Linked DNA regions of Homo sapiens: all the other regions are linked to region 2. The links are contacts of gene promoters, found by promoter capture Hi-C in human tissues and cell types (Jung and others, 2019). All regions are on one chromosome and are shown on one strand. The core of a region is centred on a gene start or on the middle of the fragment in contact, and the rest is flanking DNA. Distances in the headings are between cores, read along the strand shown.

Region 1 (3,158 bases), core at 379-2,878, 540 kb before region 2:
AGTTTTCTGAGACAGGCTCTCACTGCTCTGTTGCTCAGGCTGGAGTGCAGTGGCCCAATCTCGGCTCACTGCAACCTTTGCCTCCCGGGTTCAGTGATTCTCTTGCCTCAGCTCCTGAGTAGCTAGGATTACAGACGTGCACCACCACGCTCGGCTAAGTTTTGTATTTTTAATAGAGACAGGGTTTCGCCCTGTTGGCCAGACTGGTCTCGAACTCCTGACGTCATGTGATCTGCCCACCTCAACCTCCCAAAGTGCTGGGATTACAGGCATGAGCCACTGTGCCCAGCTTATTTTTATTTTTTGAGACACGGTCTTACTTTGTTGCCCAGGGTGGAGTTTAGTGGTGCAATCACAGCTCACTGCAGCCCCAAGTTCCAGAGCTCAAGCAATCCTCCCACCTCATCTTCCTGAGTAGCTGGGAGTACAAGCAAGAGCTACCTGGCTAATTTTTTTTTTTTTCCTGTAGAGGCAGAGTCTCACTATGTTGCCCAGGCTGGTCTTGAACTCCTGGCTGAAGTGATCCTCCTGCCTCAGCCTCCAAAAGTGCTGGGATTACAAGCTTGAGCCACCACGCCAGTCCCAGAATCTTTTTTTTTTTTTTTTTTTTTTTTTTTTTTGAGATGGAGACTTGCTCTGTCGCCCAGGCTGGAGTGCAGTGGCGCAACCTCGGCTTACTGCGACTTCCGCCTCCCAGGTTCAAGCAATTCTCCTGCCTCAGCCTCCCAGGGATCTATTAATGTTTAAGGACAAGTGGCAACTGTGGATGCCCAACATGGTTACTTAACAAGAAACCAATTTTTCAGAGGCCAAGAGTCCCAACAGGGCCGAGAATCTGGCCACTCGCCTATGGCTCTGGAGGTGGCATGACAAATAAGGGTGGCATGACAAATATAGGTTAACTGATTTGTTGCAGGGACCAGAGATCATAGATGGTGAAGTTAACTAAGGGCCTCCAAATCCGTGTCCTTTGTGCCAACAGGTGTGCCAGGCTGCTCACAAGACACCATGGTACGAGAAAGGATTTCTCGTAGTCACCTAGACACCAGGTTTATGGCTGTGTCGCAGCAAAGTTGGGTGTGACTTATGATTTTCGTTCTGAACCTTATTTGTTAGATAGGTCCTGGAGTCCTTAAAACACGCAGGTGAAAGTCAGGGAGTAGGAGCCATCAAAATTCGACTCTGGTGGGACTCGAACCCACAACCTTTGAATGACCACACTAGGCTCAGCTAGAAGTCCAATGCGCTATCCATTGCGCCACAGAGCCGGCTGCGGAACCCGGCCGCCCCGCTCACCTCTGCCTGAAACCGCCCTCTTAGCGAGCTTCTAGGTGTGGTGCTGGGTGTTTGCTGAACTCGGCCGGGGCCCGAGAGCGTGCTCCGGGTTTTCGGCTGTGGTGTGGACTGGGGTGCTCTTCCTACATCCGGGCGCTGGGGACAGCAGGGGGCAAGGGCCGGGGTCGGCAGGGAGGAAGGGCCGGGGTGAAGCCCGCCTGTCTCCTCGCGGACTCGGGGGTCTCCTCGGCTGGGTGGGGCCGCGCGGCGTGGACTACAACTCCCAGCGTGCCGCGCGGCGGCGCCGCCCGAAGCCGTTGCGCGAGCAGGGCGGGCTGGGGCCGAGCGGCGTCAGGCGCGCTGGGGCTGCGCTGCGCCGCCGGCTCTGTGGCTTGCCGGCTTCGGGGAAGGTGCGGCAGGCGGTGCTGCGGCCTGGCACAGCAGGTTTGGGGTGCGGGAGGCGGGCGGGGTAGGAGCGCGGCGGGCGGGGCCGGGCGGCGGGCGGGGCTGGCGGGGCGGCCGGGCCATGCAGGGCGCAGAGCCGGCTAAACCCTGCTGAGACCCGGCTCCGTGCGTCCAGGGGCGGCTAATGCCCCTCACGCTGTCTACGCTGCTGCAACCGGGCCGCATCTGGACGGGGCGCCGCGCGGCGGAGCCGACGCCGGGTGAGCATAGACCGGGCTGGTGGGTTCCCGGGTGGGGACATGTGCCAGGCCGAGTCGGGCGAGGTGGCGGTGCGGACCCCAGGTGGGGGGCGCGCCCTGCGGCGCTATTTCCCCGACAGACGCACTGTTACCTTGCTGTCTAGGGGCGAGGGCGGCACGCGTGACCCGGGACAGGGGCCCGAGGGAACTAGTCACCCTCTTCTGGCCTCTTCTTGCCCCAGCCTTCCAGGACAGGTTCCTGCCCCTCTGCTATGGCGGGCTATGGGAGGCCAGAGATCTGAGGACCCTGGACCCTGGCGTTGGGGTTGAGGACTCTGGTTCAGTTCCCCCGCCCCCGGCTTTTGCTTTTCGCGAGGGGGAGGGGGAGATGGTCTCCCAGGGCTTCTTGTGGTCCAGACCATTCCCTTTTCCTGGCTTGGAGGCTCTCAGGCCATTTCACATTTGTGACCTTCATCTACTCCCAAGAACAGGAAAACTCGGAGAAAAACAGTCCCATCAGATGTCCCCTTGATCGAGTCCTCAAAGCTCCAGGAATAGAACCCAAGAGTCCTAGCTCAACCCAGCCCCTGAAGCACAGTCAAGTCATTCGCCTTCCCCTAAGCCCTAGACCCCAAAGATTCATCCGAGTGGCTGTGTGTGTCTGTGTGATGGGTGGTGGTGTCTTCAAGGTCCTCCTCGCCTCCCTCAATCAGCTTTGCCCCCTGGGCGGTCACCTTTCAAGCACTTCCAGGCTCTAACTCGTTTTCTGGGTCGCCCTCTATAGACCAACAGACGCACTGCGATACCTGAGTCTATGGGCAGGGACCAAGCAGGGCTCCTTTTCCAGGGAGCTGCCCCTTTGACTTGGCCTGGTCATCCACAGAACCTCCCTGGGTTCTGGGTGGGGAGTCGAGCCAGAGACTTTTTTTTTCTTTTTTTGAGACGGAGTCTCGCTCTGTCTCCCAGGCTGGAGTGCAGTGGCACAATCTCGGCTCAATGGAACCTCCGCCTCCCGGGTTCAAGCAATTCTTCTGCCTCAGCCTCCTGAGTAGCTGGGGTTACAGGTGTGTGCCACCATGCCTGGCTAATTTTTGTATTTTTAGTAGAGACAGGGTTTCACCATCTTGGTCAGGGTGGTCTCGAACTCCTGACGTCATGATCCGCCTGCCTCGGCCTCCCAAAGTGCTGGGATTACAGGTGTGAGCCACCACTGCCAGCGAGCCAGAGGCTCTTAAGTCA
Region 2 (3,209 bases), core at 549-3,048:
CGTGACTGACAACAGAAAAAGCATCTCAGTGGCGAGGGATAAGCTAGATCATGGGCATTAGTGTAAATCTCCCAGGGTTCAAATTCCAGCTTCTCCACTTCCTGGCTATGATTTTTTTTTTTTTTTAGACGGAGTCTTGCTCTGTTGCCCAGGCTGAAGTGCAGTGGCCCAATCTCAGCTCACTGCAAGCTCTGCCTCCCAGGTTCATGCCATTCTCCTGCCTCAGCCTCCCGAGTAGCTGGGACCACAGGCGCTCGCCACCACACCCGGCTAATTTTTTTGTATTTTTAGTAGAGACGGGGTTTCACCGTGTTAGCCAGGATGGTCTCGATCTACTGACCTCGTGATCCGCCCGCCTCAGCCTCCCAAAGTGCTGGGATTACAGGTGTGAACCACCGCGCCCGGCCCTGGCTATGATATTGCTAAGTTTCCTAACCTCTCTAAGGTTCTTTTCTCTTCTATTAAAAGGGAAAAATAAGACCTCCCAACAGAAGTGAAACTAGGCATTGGCTTAACACGTGATGGATGGGAGCCACGACTATCTTCATCATCTTATTTTTAATTATCTATCTGTGCACATGGTAGTAAATTTCTCGCCCTGGCCCAGGTACCCAAGACCCCAATTCTGTCGGAGACAACCGCAATTAACAACTTCTTGTGCATCTTATCAGACAGCTGGCGCGCACACCCGCAGATACGCCCACCCTCAGGCGTCCTTCTACGCAAAGATGGATAGCACCCATCAACGCTGTTTTTTCTTTTTTTAGACGGAGTCTCGCTCTGTCGCCCAGGCTGGAGTGCAGCGGCGCGATCTCGGCTCACTGCAAGCTCCACCTCCCGAGTTCATGCCATTCTCCTGCCTCAGCCTCCAGAGTAGCTGGGACTACAGGCGCCCACCACCACGCCCGGCTGATTTTTTTGTATTTTTAGTAGAGATGAGGTTTCACCAAGTTAGCCAGGATGGTCTCGATCTCCTGACCTCGTGATCCGCCCGCCTCGGCCTCCCAAAGTGCTGGGATTACAGACGTGAGCCACCGCAACCGGCCCAACGCTGTTTTTACTGTTGTTTCCTTTTTTAACCTAAGGTATCTTAGAAGTCACCCTACATTAGTGCATATTAAACATTGTTCGTCTTAATGGCTGCACAGTATTCCACTGTATGGATTATTTTTTAATTTGGTTGCCGGTACTGTTATCAGCCAGGGAATTTGCGAGGACCCAGCGGGATTTATGGAGCTGCAGAGTTGGAGTCTGGGGACCCAATTCCAACCCCAGATCTGTCCAGAATTCTGTTGTCTCGGGTATCATCTCCACCGGCGCGGTCGTGGGAGGGGGATTTGGGTGCAGACAGGACCAGCCCCAGTGTCCGAGCGAGAATCAGCGAGCAGCACGCGCAGTTGATTCCCGCGGGCGGCTCAATCATTCTGTGCAGCCACTCCGTTATACTTAGTAGCATCAAACTCATTAAGCACTCTAGCACAACCAAGCTCGGAACCGTTAGCCGACCCTCCCAGCCTCGGCACCTGACCTTGGGGAAGTGGCGCTCCGACACAGCTACTCACCCTCACCTGGGCCGCTTCACCCCTCGTTCCCAAGTACACCCCGTAGGTTGCAGCAGTCCCTGTCCCTTTAAGGGGGCCGAGCCCGGCTCCGCTACTTCCGCCCCGAAGCAGCAGGGCGCTAGCGCGGAGGCGAGAGCGGGAGAAAGCGCCGCTAGAATTCTCCTCATAAAGATGGCGACGCCCTGGCCGCCGCGTTCGCGCCCGGCGGTGACGTCACTTCCGGGGCGGAGGAGGCTGAGTGGTGCAGTGAGGGACAAACAAAAGGAGGCGCCGGAGCAGCGCTGCGGCCGGCGGCGGGACGGAGCGGCCGGGGCCTGGGGCTGCCTGCCGGGCGGCCGGGCGCGGCGAGCCCAGGTGAGTGGACGGGGTGGGGAAAGGGGCGCGAGCTGTCACCTCTCGAAACCCACTTACACACGCCCTCGGCCAGCTGCCCGGCCCGGGGCGCCCGGGGCATCTGGGGCTCTGTCTCCGGGCCGGCCCCCTGGGGACCTCCCGCGGTGTTCGGCCTACCTCTGGGCTCCCCAGTGCCCGGAGTCTCCGGGGCACCACCTTCTCGCCGGCTCCGCGGCGCGCGAGCCCCCTCCCAGGCACCCCTGTGCCTCCTTGTGCTTCAGAAACCAGGAGTTTCCGCCTCGGCTCCCCCATGTCCCCTTGTCATCCCCTGGGTCCCCCCAGATCCTCACCCCTCCACACACACTCTCCCGTTCCTAGAGGTTCCACCTCTGGGCTCTCTCCTTGCCATTTCTTTTTCAAAGATTTCCTTAGCTGTCTTCTCCTGAGTTCCTGGTCCCCTTCTCTTCCCTTGCACCCCTCCTTCCTATCGTTCCGATGGGGGCAGTGCCCTGACTTGGGGGCAGGATCCCCGGCTAGGCTCTTGGGGCCTTTCTGGGATGGGATATTTGGGAAGACCGGTCCGGAATCTAAGAACCCAGACCCTGTCCCAGTCCTGTGCATTCAGGTGGGCCCGAGGGCGAGGCGAGATCCAGTGAGGTCCAGGCCTGGTGCAGCCCTAGGTGAGCTGGATACCCAGCAAACTGAGCTCCCAGGCTGAAGGGGCATAGCTGGGGTCATGGAGTTCATGATGATTCTGCTGCTTTCGCTGACTGCTTCTTCCCCTTGATCTGGACCGGGGTGAACCGAGGTCTGCCGGTTCTCAGCTGTTGCGATTGTTGCCTTTTTTGGGAAGGAGGGATGGGTCGGGGGTTGTCTGGTAGCCGCCTCCTGATGGAGACTTGGCTGGAAGGGTGGGCGGTTCCTGGGTGAGCCACACTTCCACTGACTCCTCTTCCCCTGCCCTACCTCAGGAAGCCTTTTGAGAATGAGGTGTGGAGGGAGAGCACCTGGTAAGAGGAAGGGAACTGGGGGAGCCCGAAGTTCCCAAGGACCTCTTCCACCTCTTCTGTTAGTAGTACTCTTAACCCCTGCCAAACTGTATTCTGCCCTTTGGAGCAGACAACCTGGCAGACAGACAGGCTGTAAGAAGCGGGAGGAGATCGGCTGTTGCTGATACTTCCTGTGGAGGGGATGTGGGAGTGGGAGTTTGTTCAGAGAGACTGGGCAGTGCTGATTGCTCAGTCTCACTGGTGTTGCTTCCATGAAGGTCAAGTCTTCCTCTGGCTCATGAAGTGAGGCAAGGACAGATGACCT
Region 3 (2,910 bases), core at 373-2,872, 680 kb before region 2:
ATTATTATCCCCATTATCCAGATTAGTTAACTGAGGTTCAGAGACGTGGAGGGACCTGGGTCACGCAGCTTGTTTAAGGCCCAGATTAGACTCCTAATCCACTCTCTGGTGCTACCAGGGAGAGGGCCTGCTTGTTCCCCATGCCTGCCTCGAAGATTCCTCCCCACAAGGGTCACTCTCTGATCACCATCTTCACAATAGCAACACCACCCTACCCCGCCCCTGCTTTCTTGCTCTGCAGGGCACGCCATCTAACAGGGCCATCGTTATTGCCCTATTTGCATATTGTCTGTCTTTTTCCACTGAATTGTCAGCCACATGTGGGTAAGGACTTTGTCCGTTTTGCTCACTGCTTTATCTCTGGAGTCTAGCATAGTACCTGGCTCAACAAATACGCATTAAATGGATGAGTAAGTGAACAGTCTCCAATTCACAGACCACTTTGTCAGCAGTGCCCCCACACTGTTCACAGCGCAGGGAAATGACTCACCGACTCCCCATGAGCACAGTGTAGGCTAGCCTTCCCTTCCTAGCCTCCACCGTGAATACTAATTAGGTTTCTTAAATGCAGAGATGGACGGCTGGGCTCAGGGCCCCATGGTCTGTCTGTGTGAAAGGGTACGCAGGGTAGGATTGTAGGAGCCCTGGATTTGAATCCCACTGTTTTACGCTGTTTTACCACCATCCTGATGGGTTGGAGCAAAGACTTCCACTCTCTAGGACAAGAGCTTCCAACTCTCCCAAGAAGGGCCCTCCAGGTGTCAGGGCCTCTGCACTTGCTGGTCATTCAGCCTGGCATGCTCTTCCCCTGATCTGCTTGCTGCTGGCTCCTTCTCATCATTTTGGTCTCTTCTCAAATGTCACTTCTGCAGAGAACACCCCCGACTCCTGCCAAGCCAATGTGAACTTTCCACACCCACAAAGATACCTTTTTTCACCCTGTTTATTTCCTCCATCCCTCTTACTATGAATTATTTTCATTTTTACTATTTCATTTATCTGCTTACTTATTTACTGTCTGTCTCCCCAGCTTGATGCAAGATCTATGAGGGCAGAGGCCTTGGCTGTCTTATTCGTTGCTGAATCTTCAGTGCCTAGGACAGGGCCTGGCTTCTAGCAGGTACCTAGTAAATATTTGTTGAATTCATGTTCCAACTTTCTCCTTCTAGAAACAAGGAAACTGAGGACCAAAGGCAGAAGAGGACATGTTGGAGATCAGAGTCAGGATCTAGGGATAGAAGCCAGCGAGATGAAGGGGAACTCATCTCGGAGTTCTGACCTCTGAGGTCAGGAGGCTGTGACCTCAGAGGAAGCCCATCTGCTCTCCAGGCCTGTTTCCTCATCGGTAAGATGGAGTGAAACATCCAGACCACTCTCCAAGAGGCCTGGTACTAGGAGTGAGACCCAACCCATTGACAAATATATTCTGCGCAGCATCCGCGCACCCCAGACACTGCTAAAGCACCCCAAAAGCCGCAGAAGGTGAAAACTACGACACCCATGATGCCCCGGACGGCGCCTGCGCACGGCGGCCGGCCCGCAGCGCCGCGGGCTCCCCCTAGCGGCGTCCGGGAGCGGTGCTCGCTCCGATCCCCGAGGGGCGGGGGCCCCGCGGCGCAGGCAGTCTGGGCGCGCGGCTGCAGCGGCGGAGCCGGAGTCGGAGCCGGGAGCGCTAGCGGCAGCCGGATCGCAGCCTGCGGGGCCCGCCGCAGCCATGGGCAACCGCGGCATGGAAGATCTCATCCCGCTGGTCAACCGGCTGCAAGACGCCTTCTCTGCCATCGGCCAGAACGCGGACCTCGACCTGCCGCAGATCGCTGTGGTGGGCGGCCAGAGCGCCGGCAAGAGCTCGGTGCTCGAGAATTTCGTAGGCAGGTAGGCGCGGCGCGCCCCCAGGCGCCGACCCCCGACCCCCGGGATCCCTGGAGTCCCCGCCCGGGGCACTGACGGCGCGGCGACCTCGCAGCCCCCGACGCTGCACCCGCGGCCGGCGCGCCCCCCACCCCCAGCCGGAGCGAGGAGGCCCTCCCCCCACCACGAGAGCCCCTCGGGGCAGCAGCGCCCCCCGCTAGTCTGCAAACGTCGTCAAGCCTCCGGCTACCGAATCACGCCCCCTCCTCCGTCCCATCCTTTAGGGCAGACAACGCTCTGCCAGAAGCCCCGGGCAAAGAGCTGCCCCCCGCCCCCAACATGGGCATGGAGAGAGCCCGCATTACTCAGCGTCTCCGTTGGGCTCCGGGAGTCCCTTGGAGCGGGCAGCACCCGGGGGCAGCGTCCCCCACACCGGGCTCAATGGGGGACATCCCCCTACCCCCATGGGAATTCCTGGGCCGTGGCAGAGGTCAGCCCCCGCATCCCAGTCCCTAGAAGAGGACGTAGTCCCGCGGGCATCGAGGACCGGGCACGGCCTCCCGCCAGCACACACACACCTCTGCGGCTCCCGCCGCCATCCGTGCGCAGCGCGGCGAGGGGGGAGGCGCGGGCTGCAGGATGAGGAAGGGAAGAGGGGAGGAGAAACCACTTCTTATCCTTTTCTGAGCAGCCGGCCCCTTGCTTCGCCACGGCCCCTGGGTGGGGGGCGCCTGTCAGTGTCGCCCTCCCCTTGGCCTGGCCAGAGGAATCGTGTTGGAGGGAGAGGCGGCAGAGGGCAGAGATGACTAAGACAGGGATGGCGGGAGGGGGGAGCCATTTGCAGAACCTAATCCCCCTCCCGCCTCTGATCCCACAAGGCGCTGAGAGGCCTAGGTGGCGGAGAGAGGAACAACCGCAAAGACAAAGGGTCGTGGGTTTAGCGGGGCAGGCAGGGTCGTGACCCGCAGGCTCCCCACAAACCCCCAAAGGGAGGCAGAAATAGTTTTTCTGGTGCTGAGGAGAGAGAAGAAAGATAGGAGCTCTCCAGGTACTGGAGGT

The links. The method cuts DNA at HindIII sites, captures the fragments that hold promoters and counts their contacts. A contact is called where the count stands out against the background at its distance.
Region 1: the fragment with the promoter of SLC27A4 here is called in contact with the fragment with the promoter of LRRC8A in region 2 in 1 of the 25 tissues and cell types used here (heart left ventricle).
Region 3: the fragment with the promoter of DNM1 here is called in contact with the fragment with the promoter of LRRC8A in region 2 in 1 of the 25 tissues and cell types used here (dorsolateral prefrontal cortex).

Annotation. Positions count from the first base shown.
Region 1 is chr9:128,338,899-128,342,056 of GRCh38, forward strand. It overlaps SLC27A4 (solute carrier family 27 member 4), which reads left to right and starts at 1,629. Exons shown (of 13, transcript NM_005094.4): 1 at 1,629-1,940. It overlaps TRR-TCT3-1 (tRNA-Arg (anticodon TCT) 3-1), which reads right to left and starts at 1,268; the gene lies at 1,178-1,268. RefSeq lists silencers at 1,006-1,647, 1,276-1,685, 1,756-2,155 and an enhancer at 2,792-2,971. The HindIII fragment of the contact is 12,819 bases long and covers 1-3,158 here.
Region 2 is chr9:128,880,335-128,883,543 of GRCh38, forward strand. It overlaps LRRC8A (leucine rich repeat containing 8 VRAC subunit A), which reads left to right and starts at 1,799. Exons shown (of 4, transcript NM_019594.4): 1 at 1,799-1,916. It overlaps KYAT1-SPOUT1 (KYAT1-SPOUT1 readthrough), which reads right to left and starts at 1,616. Exons shown (of 25, transcript NR_182311.1): 1 at 1,563-1,616. It overlaps KYAT1 (kynurenine aminotransferase 1), which reads right to left and starts at 1,616. Exons shown (of 13, transcript NM_004059.5): 1 at 1,563-1,616. RefSeq lists an enhancer at 1,686-1,835 and a silencer at 1,866-2,145. The HindIII fragment of the contact is 17,929 bases long and covers 1-3,209 here.
Region 3 is chr9:128,201,757-128,204,666 of GRCh38, forward strand. It overlaps DNM1 (dynamin 1), which reads left to right and starts at 1,623. Exons shown (of 22, transcript NM_004408.4): 1 at 1,623-1,875. The coding sequence starts at 1,715. It also overlaps a transcript of CIZ1 not described here. RefSeq lists enhancers at 1,306-1,405, 2,837-2,910 and silencers at 1,466-1,685, 2,254-2,548. The HindIII fragment of the contact is 10,387 bases long and covers 1,536-2,910 here.